Linked DNA regions of Homo sapiens: regions 1 and 2 are each linked to region 3. Evidence: promoter capture Hi-C in human tissues and cell types (Jung and others, 2019). All regions are on one chromosome and are shown on one strand. Each heading gives the region's core, a stretch centred on a gene start or on the middle of the fragment in contact. The rest is flanking DNA. Distances are from core to core; before and after follow the strand shown.

Region 1 (4,962 bases), core at 2,097-4,596, 50 kb after region 3:
CCACTTCTTGAACTGGCCTCTAGAAACATGCATTGCAAGTGATTTCTCTAACAGCTGTGCTCTTGCTTCCTTTAATCTCATCTTGCTTCTCTTTTCAACCCTGGTTACTTTCTCTTCCATCATTGCTTCCTGCTATGTTAGTCTCCTTAAATGGGTGACACTGCTTTCCCTTGATCGTTCTTTCTGATCTTAAGAAACTGCATCTTCATTGTTTATTTTTCTGCTAGTCAACTTCTAATTTATTATGAATGAGAATTTTCTTTTCTCATTCATTCATTCATTTTTGTTCTCATTCATTGATTCAAGGGAGAGAAGAGATTTCTGGTCAAATTGGAAAAGTAGATTTATATTTTAACACTTTCTCGCTGCTCTGTAATGCAGACATGGACAGAAAAAATTAAAGAAAGTCCTTATTTATCAGAAATGAACAAACAATTTAAGCCGTGAGTGGGGCTGGAATTACAGGCTTGCTGGGCTCTGGGTCTAGAAGCAGACAGTAGCTTGTTACTAGAAACAGGGACTCTAGAATGTTCCATGAGAGTTGGAGGCCTGGACACAAATTTGTTACTTGAAGCTAGTACCGGAATGGGACTCAATGTTTCATAAAGGAAGATTAAGGATGGGGAAATTGCTACCAATCAATGCTTGGAGCCTCTACATCCTGGCAAATGCTTGACTTGGGAGGTGGGAGGACACAGACTCGACAGCTTGACCAGCAGCTTAACCAAGCTGCCTGCTGACTCAGTGCCTTGATTTGTAACACCTCAATTATCACCCTAGGGAATCTCTAAACTCTTCTTATGAGCTTGTGTTCTGGACTGGGGTCTGGGAAACTACACAGAGGCAACTTCAAAACTTCTATAGAGAGGGAAAGCGAAGAGGGAGAAAAAAAATGAAAACAAAATCCATTCAGTTTAAAATAAGCCTTCATTTTAATAACTGTAAACATGTAAAGAAATCTAATGGTAAAAAAGAAATGGATTAATAACAAATAAGATTAATTTATTAATTTTATTTTATTAACTTAGTCTAACCAAGACTTTGAAATATATATATTTAAGGTATTTAAGGAGAAAAAAGGAGGCATAAAATTTATGAAAAATAAGAAATTATAAAACAAAAGCAACAAAAATGAAATCTGAAATGAAAAGGAATGAGTTAGAAATTTTGGAAAATAGAGCAGTGTTTCCCTTATTATCTGATCGTGTTTTCACTCCCAAGTTCTGGAATACTCAGGGTGGTAAACTTGCCACTGGATGATTACCAGTTGAAATTCTTTAGGGGGTGGGGAGGGAAGAGAAGCCAGAGAACTTTCAAAAAGATAAACAAAATCAATAAACCTTTATCTAGATTAAGAAAGAAAAAGAGAAGACCCAAACAAATAAAATTAGAAATGAAAAAGGAGACATGACAACTGATGCCAGAAAAATACAGAGGATCATAACAGACAATTATGAACAATTATACACCAACAAATTGGAAAATCTACAAGGAATAGATAAATTCCTGGGCACATGTAACCTACCAATACTGAATTGTGAAGAAATAGAAAATTTGAACAGCCCAATAGTGAGTAAGGAGATTGAGTCAGGAGTGAAAAGTCTCCCATCTAAGAAAAGCCTGGAACTTGATAGTTTCACTGTGAATTCTACCAAACGTTTAAAGAAGGACTAATACCAGCTCTTCTTAAGCTATTCCAAAAAACTGAAGAACAGGAAATTTTTCCTTACTCTTTCTCTAAAGCCAACATTACCTTGATACCCAAACCTAACAAAGACAACAACAAAAAAAGATGGCCAGGTGCGGTGGGTGGCTCACGCCTGTAATGCCAGCACTTGGGGAGGCCGAGGTGGGCAGATCACTTGAGCCCAGGATTCTAGAACAGCCTGGGCAAATGGCAAAACCTCGTCTCTACAAAAAATACAAAAATGAGCTGGGTTTGATGGTGAGCACCTGCAATCCCAGCTACTTTGGAGGTTGAGGTGGAAGGATGGCTTGAACCCGAGAGGCAGAGGTTGTAGGGAGCCGAGATCACATGACTGCATTCCAGCCTGGGTGATAGAGCCAGACCTTGTCTCAAAAAAAAGAAAAAGGAAAAGAAAACTACTAGTCAATATCCCTGATGAACTTAGACACAAAAATCCTCAACAAAACACTAGCAAATCAAATTTAACAACACTTTGAGAAGATTATTTACCATCTTCAAGTGAGATCAAGATGAATCCACTCCAGGCAAATGAGGATGGTTCAATATATGCAAATCAATAAATGTGATTCATTAACAAAATGAAGGACAAAAACCAAGATGTAGAAAAAGCATTTGACGAAATTCAACATCACTTAATCATAAAAACTAACAATAAATTAGGTATAGAAGGAATGTGCCTCAACACAATAAAAGCCATGTATGACAGACCCACAACTAACATCATATTGAATAAGAAAAAGCTGAAAGCTTTTATGGTAAGATTTGGATAAGGCAAAGATGCCCATTTCTTACCACTTTTACTCAGCATAATACTAGAAGTCTTAGCCAGAGTAGCTAGGCAAGATAGAAAAATAAAAGGTATCCAAATTGGAAAGGAGGAAGTAAAATTATCCGTGTTGGCAGATAACATGATCTTACATACAGAAAACCCTAAAGACTGTGCCAAAAAGCTGTTAGAACTAATAAATGAATTTAGTAAAGTTGCAGGATACAAAATCAACACACAAAAATCAGGAGTGTTCCTATATGCTAATAGCAAACTATCTGAAAAAAAAATTAAGAAAACAGTTCTATTTATAATAACTACCAAAAATAACTAGAAATAAATTTAACCAAGGAAGTGAAAGATCTTTACAATGAAAACTACAAAAAAACTGATGAAAGAAATTGAAGAAGACACAAGTAAATGAAAAGATATCCTGTGTGCATGAATTAGAAGAATTAATATAGTTAAAATGTCCATATTACCTGAAGTGATCTACAAAATCAATGCAACCCCTGTCAAAATACCAATGACATTTTTCATGGAAATAGAAAATCCTAAAATTTGAATGGAACCACAGAAACCTTGAATAGTCAAAGCAATTCTGACCAAAAAGAACAAAGCTGAACAAAGGTGTAACACTACCTGATTTAAAAATATACAACAAAGCTAAAATAACCAATAAAAACAGACAAACTAATGGAACAGAATAGAGAGCCCAGAAATAAATCCACAATTTACAGCCAACTGATGATATTCATCAAAGGTGCTACGAACACATTTTGGGAAAGGTCAGTCTTTTCCATAAATTGTGTTGAGAAAACAGGATATCCACAGGCAGAAGAAGGGAACTAGACCCTTATATAAAAAATGAACTCAAAATGGATTACAGACTTAAGTCTAAGACCCCAAATGATGAAACTACTATAAGAAAACATTGGAGAAATGCTTCATGACATGGGTATGGGCAAATATTTTTTTGGATAAGACCTCAAAATCACAGGCAACAAAAGCAATATTGGAAAAATGGGATTACAACAAACTAAAAAACTTCTGCACAGCAAAGAAACAATTAGCAGAGTAAAGAGACAACTTATAGACTGGAAGAAAATATTTGAAAACTACACGTCTGACAAGAGGTTGATATCCAAAATATAAAAGGAACTCAAACAACTCAATAGCAAGAAAACAAACCTATTACAAAATGGGCGAAAGACTTGAATAGACACTTCTCAAAAGAAGACATGTAGGCTGGGCACGGTGGCTCATGCCTGTAATCCCAGCATTTTGAAAGGCTGAGGTAGGCAGATTGCTTGAGCACAGGAGTTCAAGACCAGCCTGGGCAACAGGGTGAAACCTTTTCTCTGCAAAAGAACCCCACAAAAATTAGCCTGGTGTGGTAGGGTGTTCCTGTAATCCCAGCTGTTTGAGAGGCTGAGGTAGGAGGATCACCTGAGTTGGGAAGGTTCCCAAATATGAAAAATGAAAAACTAATTACACCACTGCTCTCCAGCCTGGACAACAGAGTGAGACTCTGTCTCAAAAAGAACAAAAACCAAAAACAACTGCATAATCTCTCATGTGAAATCTAAACAAGCTGATCTCATAGAAGGAGAGAGTAGAATGGTGTTTACCAGAAACTGGGGTGGTTATGAAAGAGAAGATGAGGAGATGTTGGTCAAAGGATATATAATCAATCACAGATAGAAGGCAGGAGGAAAAAATTTTTGCCCAGAATAGGCAAACATATAGAAACAGAAACCAGACAAGTGAGTGCCTGTGGCCAGGAGGTACTGGGGAGAAGATAGGAGGAGAAGAAGAGAAATGGGGAAATTACTGCTAATGGTTGTGGAGTTTATTGGATGAGGAAAACGTTCTAAAATTGATCGTGGAGATGGCTGCACAACTCTGTGAACATACTAAAAACATTGGAGTGTGCATTTTAAGTGTGTGAATTGTATGATACGTGAATTATATCTCAATAAACATTTTAAAAATAGAAATCTTGGAAAATAGAAAAAATTATGGCTTTTGGAATACAAAAATTTTATACTTACAGGGATGATTAGGGAATTGGAAGGTAGTACTGAAGAATGCCCTCAGCATGCAGCACAGAGAGAGAAAGGGGTAAAACATGAAAGCGTGTTGAAGAGACAACAGATGCTAGGTGGTGAGGAACCAACATTGGCCATTATATTTTGATGGCACATTATAACCCCATGTCTGTGATTCTTAAAAGTTGGTCAAACAGTGCTATATTTGAAGAAAATTGACTTATAGAGTAGGATTATACAAAACATGTGTATTAGTCTGTTCTCACGCTGCTAATAAAGACATACCTAGGACTAGGTAATTTATAAAGGAAAGAGGTTTAATAGACTCACAGTTCCATGTGGTTGGGGAGTTCTCACAATTATGTCAGAAAGGGAAGGGGAAGCAAGACACGTCCTACATGGCGGCAGGCAAGAGAGAGCTTGTGCAGAACTCTCAT
Region 2 (4,802 bases), core at 864-3,363, 53 kb before region 3:
GACAAAGCAATGCCATGTTGAGAACAGTAAAATGTTTCCACAGAAGCAAATATAGACATTCCAAGTGGAGAGAGGTGGAGAGAGAGAGAGAGAGAGAGAGAGAGAGACATCTAATGTATTTCAATTTTTCCCGTAATTAGAAAAGAACAACTTAGGTGAAAGCTTTTTAAATAATCATAGAGAATGACATGGTTAGGCTTTGTGTTCCCACCCAAATCTCATCTTGAATTGTAATCCCCATAATCCCCAGGTGTCAAGGGAGAGACCAGGTGGAGGTAATTGAATCATAGTGGCAGTTTCTCCCATGCTGTTCTCGTGATAGTGAGTGAGTTCTCACGAGATCTTATGGTTTTATAACGGGCTCTTCCTGCTTCGCCCAGCCTTTCTCCTTCCTGCCACCTTGTGAAGGAGGTTGTCTTGCTTCCCCTTTGCCTTCCGCCATGATTGTGAGTTTCCTGAGACCTTCTGAGCCAGGATGAACTGTGAGTCAATTAAACCTCTTTCCTTTATAAATTACCTAGTCTCAGGAAGTTCTTTACAGCAGTATGAAAATGGACTAATATAGAGAACATCTGTTTTCTCAAGGTACCTGTAATCATGCTGGATATAATTAATGGCAAAATGATGAGTTTCAGCATCCGCATTAGAATTTCTCCAGGAAAAGCAAAGTAGAATTTCTCTAGAGTTGAGAGGTTGCTGTGTTCTCGAACCAAGACTCCTGTGGTAATGCCTAAGGAAAACAAGAGTTGGAAAGAAGGAAGAGGAACATTATTGAGTTCTCCTGTATCTATGTCTATGGAAAAATACTCCCAAATGCACATTTTAATGGCAAGAAAAATAGTTTAGATCATTTCCCATGAGTCTGTAAAATCTAGACTGAAATTATATTTTAAAAGACAGTGAACAGAAAGTACACATTATTCAGTAAATCTGTAAAAAGTATTCTATACATGAAAGCTTTGTTGTCATTTCTTCGCTATCAATTACACTTATTATGACAAAATATCAAAGAATACTGTGAGAAAAAAAATCATCTTAGTCAATCCAGTATAACTCTTTTGCATTCACACACCACCTTTTTCTACCTGCAGAGATATTTTACATATTTTATTATTTTTATTGAGACAGGGTCTCACTCTGTCACCCAGCCTAGAGTACAGTGGTACCATCTCGGCTCACTGCAGCCTCAACCTTCCAGGCTCAGTCGATCCTCCCACCTCAGCCTCCCGAGTAGCTAGGACTATATGCGCACCACCATGTCCAGCTAATTTTTGTATTTTTTTCTTGAGAGGGTTTCATTCGGTTGCCCAGGCTGGTCTCGAACTCCTGGCCTCAAGTGATCTGCCCACCTCGACTTCCGAAAGTGCTGGGATTACAGGTGTGAACCACCATGCTTGGCTATTTTACATATTTTATAGTTTACATATCAGTTTGTATTTTTCTCATATTTTTATTATAAGTACTTTTTATGGTATATTTGTATAATCTTTCCTGTTTATGCAACTTTTATAATTTTAATAGGAATATAATAGCCTATTGATTTATTTACCATATTATCAAATGACTGTTCTCTAATGTTTTGCACTCTTTTCAGTTATTTCTAGATAATGATATATTCAGGTTTATCTGATTAAAAGGCTTTTTACAAAGTTTCTGATTTTGAGTACCTTGTACATGAAGTCTTATAATTATGTGAGTGTAGGGACATGTTCACTATTAAGAAATGTTACCATTCTCTGAAAGCTTTTCCTTAACAAGATGCCCATATTGAAATCCTTCAGTTGTATGGATAACACAATTTAATGATGACTTTAATAACTAAAAATCACAAATTTTTATTTCTATTCTCTTCCAAGTATTTCTAATAACATCTAACTGCTTTACCCTTTCCTTCTCCCAATATACACACTCTTATTTTAAGGCAGAAAAATAAATGGGATGACTTTTGCATCTTTTTTCCTTCATCGGCCTCTGTTGGATGTCATGATATTTGGAAGTAAAATGACTAAGTGGCAGAAAGATTCAAGGAGGATATCACTGGTATGTGAACCTAAAAACTCAAGTAATTAGTTTGTGAATACCAAGACTTATTTGGGCACAATTAAAAACTCTAGGGCAATGAAAGAATATGTGAATTATAATCAGTACTAGAATTTTCATTTAAATTCAGGCATCCTTCCCATGCCCACTAGTAGACCAAATAGATGAACCTCACAAGATGCATTTTGTATACTAACCTTATCCTTAGCTTAATTTTATTTCCCTATTCTACCTTTGCCTTGATCTCTATTTTGTGCATGCACTACTGGATGCATTTCTGGTGATTCAGTAGTGTTTACACACTACTGCATTGTGAATACACAATTTTAAATCATTTTTGGAACAAACATATAAACATTTCCCAAATTGTAGCTAAGACAAAGATGAAACAAAACTCTATTATCAATGCTATTTGGTTTCTATTTTACAACCCTAGTGTTAGAGACTCTTGAATGGATAAGAACACCAAGAATTCAAAGTATTTTAAATAAATTTAAAAAGTACGATGTGCTCACTTCCTGCTTTATAAACTGCCTGTGTTCAGCTGTTCTATATGAACATACCTATATTATGCCCTAAGGATACGCTGTAATTCCCAGGACTTTAAAAAACAAATATTCTCTCTCATACTATTCAGGTTGCTTCAAGTAAATTTTTGGCTTGTATGTCAAAGAAAGCTCAGTATGTAAAAAATAAAGATGTGTCTGTACTCAAACACTAGCCACACAAGGACTCTGTTGAATAGCAAGAGAAACCCATGTGCCCCAATCTCAGGGCTTATATTACTAATGATTAACTGTGCCTCTAATTATCTCTATGCTAAATTAATGTAGGGTCATTAGAAAGATATGTACTTGCTATTTTTCAGCCTTTAGCCAGATACAGGATTTTTTTAAAGGGAGAAATAAGAGTTGCCAGGTACAGTAGCTTGAAAGCAATAAAAGGTGACATGTACCCCAAGTAGGTTACTGTATTTGGCAATTACAACTTTCTATCAAGCTTGTTCTTGAAATTGAGTGCCACAAATTGTACTCCAATATTCCTTCCTTCCTTCCTCCCTCCCTCCGTGTCTCTCCCTTTCCTTTTCCCCTCCCCTCTCCTTTCCTTTCTAAAAAGAAGAATAGAAATACCAATCTAGTGCTGGAAATGAAGTTGGGATGTCACACTGAGACCCTCAAATACAAGAAATGGCTAGTGAATGACCTCACCTAGGAGTTATGCCTTGTAAATTGGTGTGCTTTATCTTGGTCTCAAGCAGTTTAGAAACAGCAGATTCGGGATGAGGAAAATCACCAGAAGATTTTCCAGGTCCCAAGAAGAGGTCAGAGTCTCATAGGGCATAACCTTTCTTTACCCATTAACAGAGTCAGAACCTTGGGCTGGATTAAGAATTATGGAGAGGTTCCCAAAGCCAAAGGCTGCTAGGAATAACTGCCCTTCTGGGAGTACGCAGGCCAGGCCCACCTGGTAAGGCCACTCCCAGAACTAAGAAAGGTAAAGATTGTGAAAATAAATAATTGAAAATCTCAGCCGTTGAAACTTTATTTTGAGCCTTAAGGGAATGTGATTATGGAACCTGAGTCACATAAATAGGCAGCTGTAACCTTTGTTTCTCTGATTATAGATTAGCCTTTTCCTTACCTACATTGTTTGGTAAAGTGTTATAAATTACTAAAGGGTGCCAGGGAAGACCCTTTCTCTCTAAGTATGGATCTTCATTATAGACTAGCCTCCCTCTTTCCTCTTTCACACAAAGGCTTCATGGTTATCACACTAACTAGGATGGAATGTTAAATACTTGCTTTTAAATTGGAAAGGAAACGAAAACAAGCTGTATGGAAAAGAAAACAAACGAACTAAATTGTCACTCATAAACCAGGCTTGTATAGAAAATATTATAATCCTACTAAACTTCTTTGTTTGCTGTATAGAAGCAAGTACTTAACTTTTAACTTCGAAGCACTGACCCCATTTCTCTAGAGTCCATGATTCTTGGATGGCTATTCCCAGCTTTTTGCTTGAATAAACTCTTTAAAACTGGATTCTGATCCTTTTGATTATTTCAGGTTGACAAGATCAACAATTTCCCTGAACGGTGTAGCAGGAAGGACTTCAGCAGAGCCAACAAGGAATTCTCAAAAGTAAACTAAGTACCTGGACCCCCAAAGCCCCAGCAATGGACACAGGACACCATTCTTGCGCTTCCTTCCCACCACAGACACAGGTAATTTCAAGCAGATGCTTGGGAAGCTTGGGAAGGACACTGGTATTAGGCAAGCAGGCTCAAGCCTGGTTCCACCAATTGTGAGGTGTGGAACCTGGGCCATAACTTTAACTTCTCCTATTTTCAAGGGTTAGATTAGCTGTCTTCAGAAGTCCCTTCTAATGCCTCTAATCACCTCTGAGCCTTGATGTCCTCAACTTTAAAATGAGATCACATTATCTCATTTCCAAGAAAGCTGCCTGTGCTTTTGAAGCAGGAAATTTCCCTGACACCGTTGCAGGTGGGAACTGCAGTGCACGGGTGCTGGATCTAGCTGGCCGCTTTGTCACTGGCAGGGGCAAACTCCACTCACTTGGACCCGTTGCACTTCACCCCTTGCAGAAGGGAGTCCACAGGTGAGCAGGTACAGGAGCCAGGGTGAGTGCTTCTGGGCATCAGCTGGAGTGAACTCCGTGCAGAGTCCTGAGGCAGTGTCTAGTGGGTGCCCATTACCCCTGAAGGCCCAGAGGGCATGTGTTTTAGTCAGCGCTCTTTTAGC
Region 3 (4,648 bases), core at 2,025-4,524:
ATTATTTTTTTTAGAAATAGAGATGAGATCAGGCTGGTCTCAAACTCCTGAACTCACTCATTCCTCCTACCTTGGCCTTCCAAAGTCCTAGGATTACAAGTCTGAGCCACTGCACCTGGTCAGGGACCAAACATTTGAACGGCTATAATCAGAAGAAGATGTTTTGTCATGATAGTTAATAAATTTCACAGTTTTTTTTCTTCTTTAAGTTCCACATGCTGAAAAGTCCAAAAGGGAGGCTGCATTAGAGCTCTTGCGATTTTTCTGGATCAGTTAAGGCAGTTATAAAATAAGCTCTTACTATCATTATCTAGCAAGGGTTTATGAATAGACTCAGTGCCACTGTTATAAGTCACTGGAATTTCACTGTCAATTAAACAAATCAGCCCTTACAGACTACACAAACAAGTATGAGTTTCCACTCAGGCCCAGTACTCTGAAGAAAAAGGACAAGAAAAGGACCCCTGTTAATGGGCATATCGGGGGTGGTCTAGGTTTGAGACTTCTCAGACCAGAAGCAGGACTGCCCTTTGTTGCCATCTGAAGGAACAAATATCTAGGAAGATTTCAGCTGGGCACTTGATTTTTAAGTGGTGACTTTCCTTTCTGGAGAAAAGTACTCAAACTAAGCTCTTGGGGCTCACAGACATTAAAATTGGAGGAAAGTGCCCATCTGAGACCAAAGGCCATGTCTGCAAAATGAGCATGTACTTCTTCTTATTCACGCAACTGATTCCAAAGGCCAGGGAACAATTGCTTAAAACCTTCTCCAAACCAGTCTCCAGTGAATCGCATGCTGACGAGTGGTGTGCAACACTTGGGTAGCAAGTGAGTATCTCTGGAGAGCCCCATGCTGAAAAGGCAGGATAACTCCACTTCCACAGGGAATCAGGAGGGAGACTCAAGCCAATGTTTATCCTGCAAAGTCTTTTTTTTTTTTCTTTTTAGACAAGGTCTCATTCTTGTTGCCCAGGCTGGAGTGCAGAGTCACGATCACGGCTCACTGCAGCCTCGACCTCCCTGGGCTCAGGTGATCCTCCCACCTCAGTCTCCTGAGTAGCTAGGACTACAGATGTGCACCACCACGCTAATTTTTGTACTTTTTTGTAGAGATGGCATTTTGCCATGTTGCCCAGGCTGGTCTCCAACTCCTGGGCTCAAGCAATCCTCCTTCCTTGGCCTCCCAAAATATTGGGATTATAGGTGTGAGTCACCGTGCCTGGCCCTCTAAAAGTCCTTTTCCTTTTTTTTTTTTTTTTTTTGGTGGATTCTTGCTCTGTCACCCAGGCGGGAGTGCAGTGGCACAATCTTGGCTGACTTCAACCTCTGCCTTCTGGGTTCAAGCAATTCTCCTGCCTCAGCCTCCCGAGTAACTGGGGTTATAGGCATGAGCCACCTTGCCCTGGCATCTCTCAGTCTTCAAAAAGAGATTTAACAATTAATCCTCGACTCTTATCACTAGGAAAACAAACAAGGCCATCTCTTCTCTTTGGCCTAAAGGAAATCAAGTCGTTCTTTGTAGCGTATGCTATTTAAATATGGTAGAGTAGGATAAACTTTCCCTTAAAAATGTTCAAAACCGAAAAAAAAAAGTTCCAAAACCACTTGGCACTTCTTGGGGGAAATAGTCAAGATTTGCTTCTGTACTTCTCTCCTTTCCTCCTACAAATAGCCTCTGCTAGGGCCATTCCAGGATGTTATTTATTTACTAGAAACCTGACTTTCCTTTCCCCAAGGTTCTGGAGAATCCAATCTGACCCCAAGAATCCCATTAACTTCCAAAGGCCATTTCCATGCCCTATCCCCACCCTGAGGGGAGGGGGCGGTTCGGAGGAGAAGCAAGCAACACCATATATTCTGAGATTTAGGAGCAGCAGTTGGAGAGGAAGGTACCTGAGGTTGGGAGGAAACAAGCTGTCCCCACTTGCCTTTTCAGCAAACACAGCTGCAGTTTCCAAGGGGAAGGTGGAGCCTGCCGAGGAATCCACATTCCTCAGAGGGTGCAACAGCCCTCACCTGCTGAGGAGCTATCACTGGGAAGGCGACAGATATGGCGCTAATCCCAAGGAAGTGCATCCCCGGGCCGGAGCTAGAAACACACAACCTTGGTAAAAAATCAGAATCTAAATAGGAATAACTCATACCTCTGAGCAATGGCTCAGACATCCACCTGGTCCAGTGATCTGTGAGGGGTGGATCACTTAAATACACCCTTGTTTAAAAACAGGCAAGGATGGCTTAAACATTATCTTAAATACAAAAACAACGTGGAGAGCAAGGAAGGCAGGAGAAGAGACGGCTGAGTTCTCTTAGCTCTCTTCCCCGGTGACCTCCCGCGGGCCACAGTGGCACATCCCAGAATTCAGGCACGAATCTGGCAGCTTTTCAGAGCCCGGGTGCAGGCAGTCGGCGCTCGCCGCGTGGGAAGGCACCTTTCCACGCACTGCCCAGGATGAGCGGCGACAGCGTTCTCAGCCTCCCTCCCCTAAGGGTCCGGCCCATCCCGGAGGCCAGGGTGCCTCTTCCAATTCGACTGAGAACTGTAATCCACACTCAATCTCTGCCCGCGCAGCGAGGCTGGGGGTGTGGGGTGAGGAAGGTGGCGGTGATAGGGGGAGATACGGTGCGGGATTAACAAAGAAAAAAATCGAACCCTGTTTTCAAACGAGCAGAACCAAGAGCTACTTGCTTCCCTTTCTACCCCCAAGCCCCTTTGATCATTTTGGGTAGAGCAGGAACCAGCAGCTCAAGGAGCACTCAAATGGGAGTCCCAGAGGAGCTTTGTTCTTGGTGTGCAGTAATTAGAGCGCTTGGGGGAAAGCCCCCGCAGGGGGCCCGAGGCTAAGGCCGAGGGGGCATCGAGGGACCCTGCATGGAGTGCGCCAGCGCCAAGCCCACCCTCAGCCGCACGCGGCCTGGGCGCAGAGAGCGCGTGAGGGTGCGCGCATCGCCCACCCGCCGCGCCGCTCACCTAGCACCACCGCGGCCACGGTGGACAGCAACACCCAGTTATTCTTCAGGAAGCGCTTCCACTCGCATCCTTTCCTCGCCGGTTTCCCCATGGCTGTCGCCGCTATTGTGCGCTGGGCTCGGCCGTGCGCGCGTGGGCTGGGCGACCCGGGGACTGCTGGCTGCTCGGCGGCGCGGCGAGATGCGGGTGCACAGGGGAGAGGTGAGAGCCGGCCGCTGCAGTCGCCGCCGTCACCACCGCCGTTGCCGCCGCCACCCGGGATCGCGCACCGCGCCCGCCGCCCTGCCAGCCCGGTAGTTTTGCGTGGCAGGCGCGCCCGGCTCCTCCTGCTGCCGCCGCGCTCTGCGGCGCCTGGGCCAACCAGCGAGGAAGGAGGGAGGAGCGGCAGGCCCGGGAAGGAGGGTGGGTGCGTGCGTGGGACGCCCGGGGTCCCTAGGGAGCAGGCGTGGTAGGGCGCCCAGCGCTGCGGCAGGAGCTGGGGCGGCCTCTCCGGGAACCCTGAGTCCCGCCCCACAGCCTTCCACTGGAGTCTGTCTCGCTTTCCACGCCTCACTCATGCTAGGGCTTTGGGTTAAGGGTTTTCTTCTGTCCCTAACCCAGAGAGGCGGAGCCACTGCCCTCCTGGGCGCGGACTTCATCCTGCACGTCTCCCTCTCCGTTCTCCACACCAGCTATTTCCAGCGCCGGCACCTGCAGAACGGGTGCCCTTTCAAGTCGGGGGAAGCTGATCCTGCCTTGGGTCCCTCTTGCTCGGCTACTCAGGCTGGGATGTGCCAGCAGCCGCGAAAGCCTGAAGCTTCTGGGAGGAGAGAAAGGAGTCCTGGGGCAGAACATGGCTTTGGAAACTTTCACGCGGAGCCTCCAGTGCCCCCACAGGGATTATTCTCCTCTTCGAGTCGCTGGAGGTGATTTGTCTGTGGACACTGGGCTTGGGAGTGTTCCCTGCACAAGGAGATGGTGATTTCTCTTAGAACTTTACTTCTGCTCCTTGGGACTTGCTCTGTGACCACAGGCCCTGGAGCATGGAGGCTTGGGGCAGTGATTAGAACTGAGAACCGGACCCGGGAGCCGCTCTGGGGAGAAAGTGGGCGGTCCATCCCCTAAGGTCCAACGGATTGGAAAGGCAAACACAGGAGAAACTAGGTTAGTGGTGCCAAATATATTTGGTGTTGCTAAGTGAATTTCTGATGCTCTTCCATTTTTCTACCCAATTTTTTCACTCTCACGTATACAATCTCTTTCCCTCCCTTTACCAAATCAGTACCTCCGCAGCTGTAAGCGGTCTTCTTATCAGCGTTCCTAAAGTTAAGTGAGCCTGGAACCCTTTTTGCTATTGTAGAATCTACTCTGATTGTGGGTAGGGAGAATTTCCCCTACTAGATTTTCTGATGACTAAATCCCCACAATTAGAGCTTCATCCCTTTGGTGTAAATTGATACAAGCATCTTTTAAGCGATAATAGATTAAGATTTACAACCCTGTAGACTTTAGTATGAATGAGTTTATCAGCTCTTTATAGAAAGTAAACTTTGAGAGAAAGAAGGTTAGAGGGATTTTAAGGTCGTTGGGTGTCCGAGGAAGATCTGAAGAAATGTCAGAAGGGGACCCGGGTGCGGTGGCTCTTGCCTGTAATCTCAGGACTTTGGGAGTCCGAGGCGAGCGGATCACGAGGTCAGG

Evidence for each region. The method cuts DNA at HindIII sites, captures the fragments that hold promoters and counts their contacts. A contact is called where the count stands out against the background at its distance.
Region 1: a fragment that was not itself captured here is called in contact with the fragment with the promoter of SLC1A1 in region 3 in 1 of the 25 tissues and cell types used here (lymphoblastoid cells).
Region 2: a contact is called between a fragment that was not itself captured here and the fragment with the promoter of SLC1A1 in region 3, in 4 of the 25 tissues and cell types used here (H1 embryonic stem cells, dorsolateral prefrontal cortex, hippocampus and 1 more).

The regions. Positions count from the first base shown.
Region 1 is chr9:4,438,741-4,443,702 of GRCh38, reverse strand. It overlaps a transcript of GLIS3 not described here. Among named protein-coding and RNA genes, the nearest start is that of SLC1A1, 49 kb to the left of the region's middle. The HindIII fragment of the contact is 6,103 bases long and covers 295-4,962 here.
Region 2 is chr9:4,540,495-4,545,296 of GRCh38, reverse strand. It overlaps SLC1A1 (solute carrier family 1 member 1), which reads right to left. Exons shown (of 12, transcript NM_004170.6): 2 at 590-730. Among named protein-coding and RNA genes, the nearest start is that of SLC1A1, 52 kb to the right of the region's middle. The HindIII fragment of the contact is 3,105 bases long and covers 561-3,665 here.
Region 3 is chr9:4,489,094-4,493,741 of GRCh38, reverse strand. SLC1A1 (solute carrier family 1 member 1) reads right to left here and starts at 3,274. Exons shown (of 12, transcript NM_004170.6): 1 at 2,972-3,274. The coding sequence starts at 3,062. It also overlaps a transcript of GLIS3 not described here. RefSeq lists a silencer at 3,047-3,476 and an enhancer at 3,627-3,676. The HindIII fragment of the contact is 11,033 bases long and covers 1-4,648 here.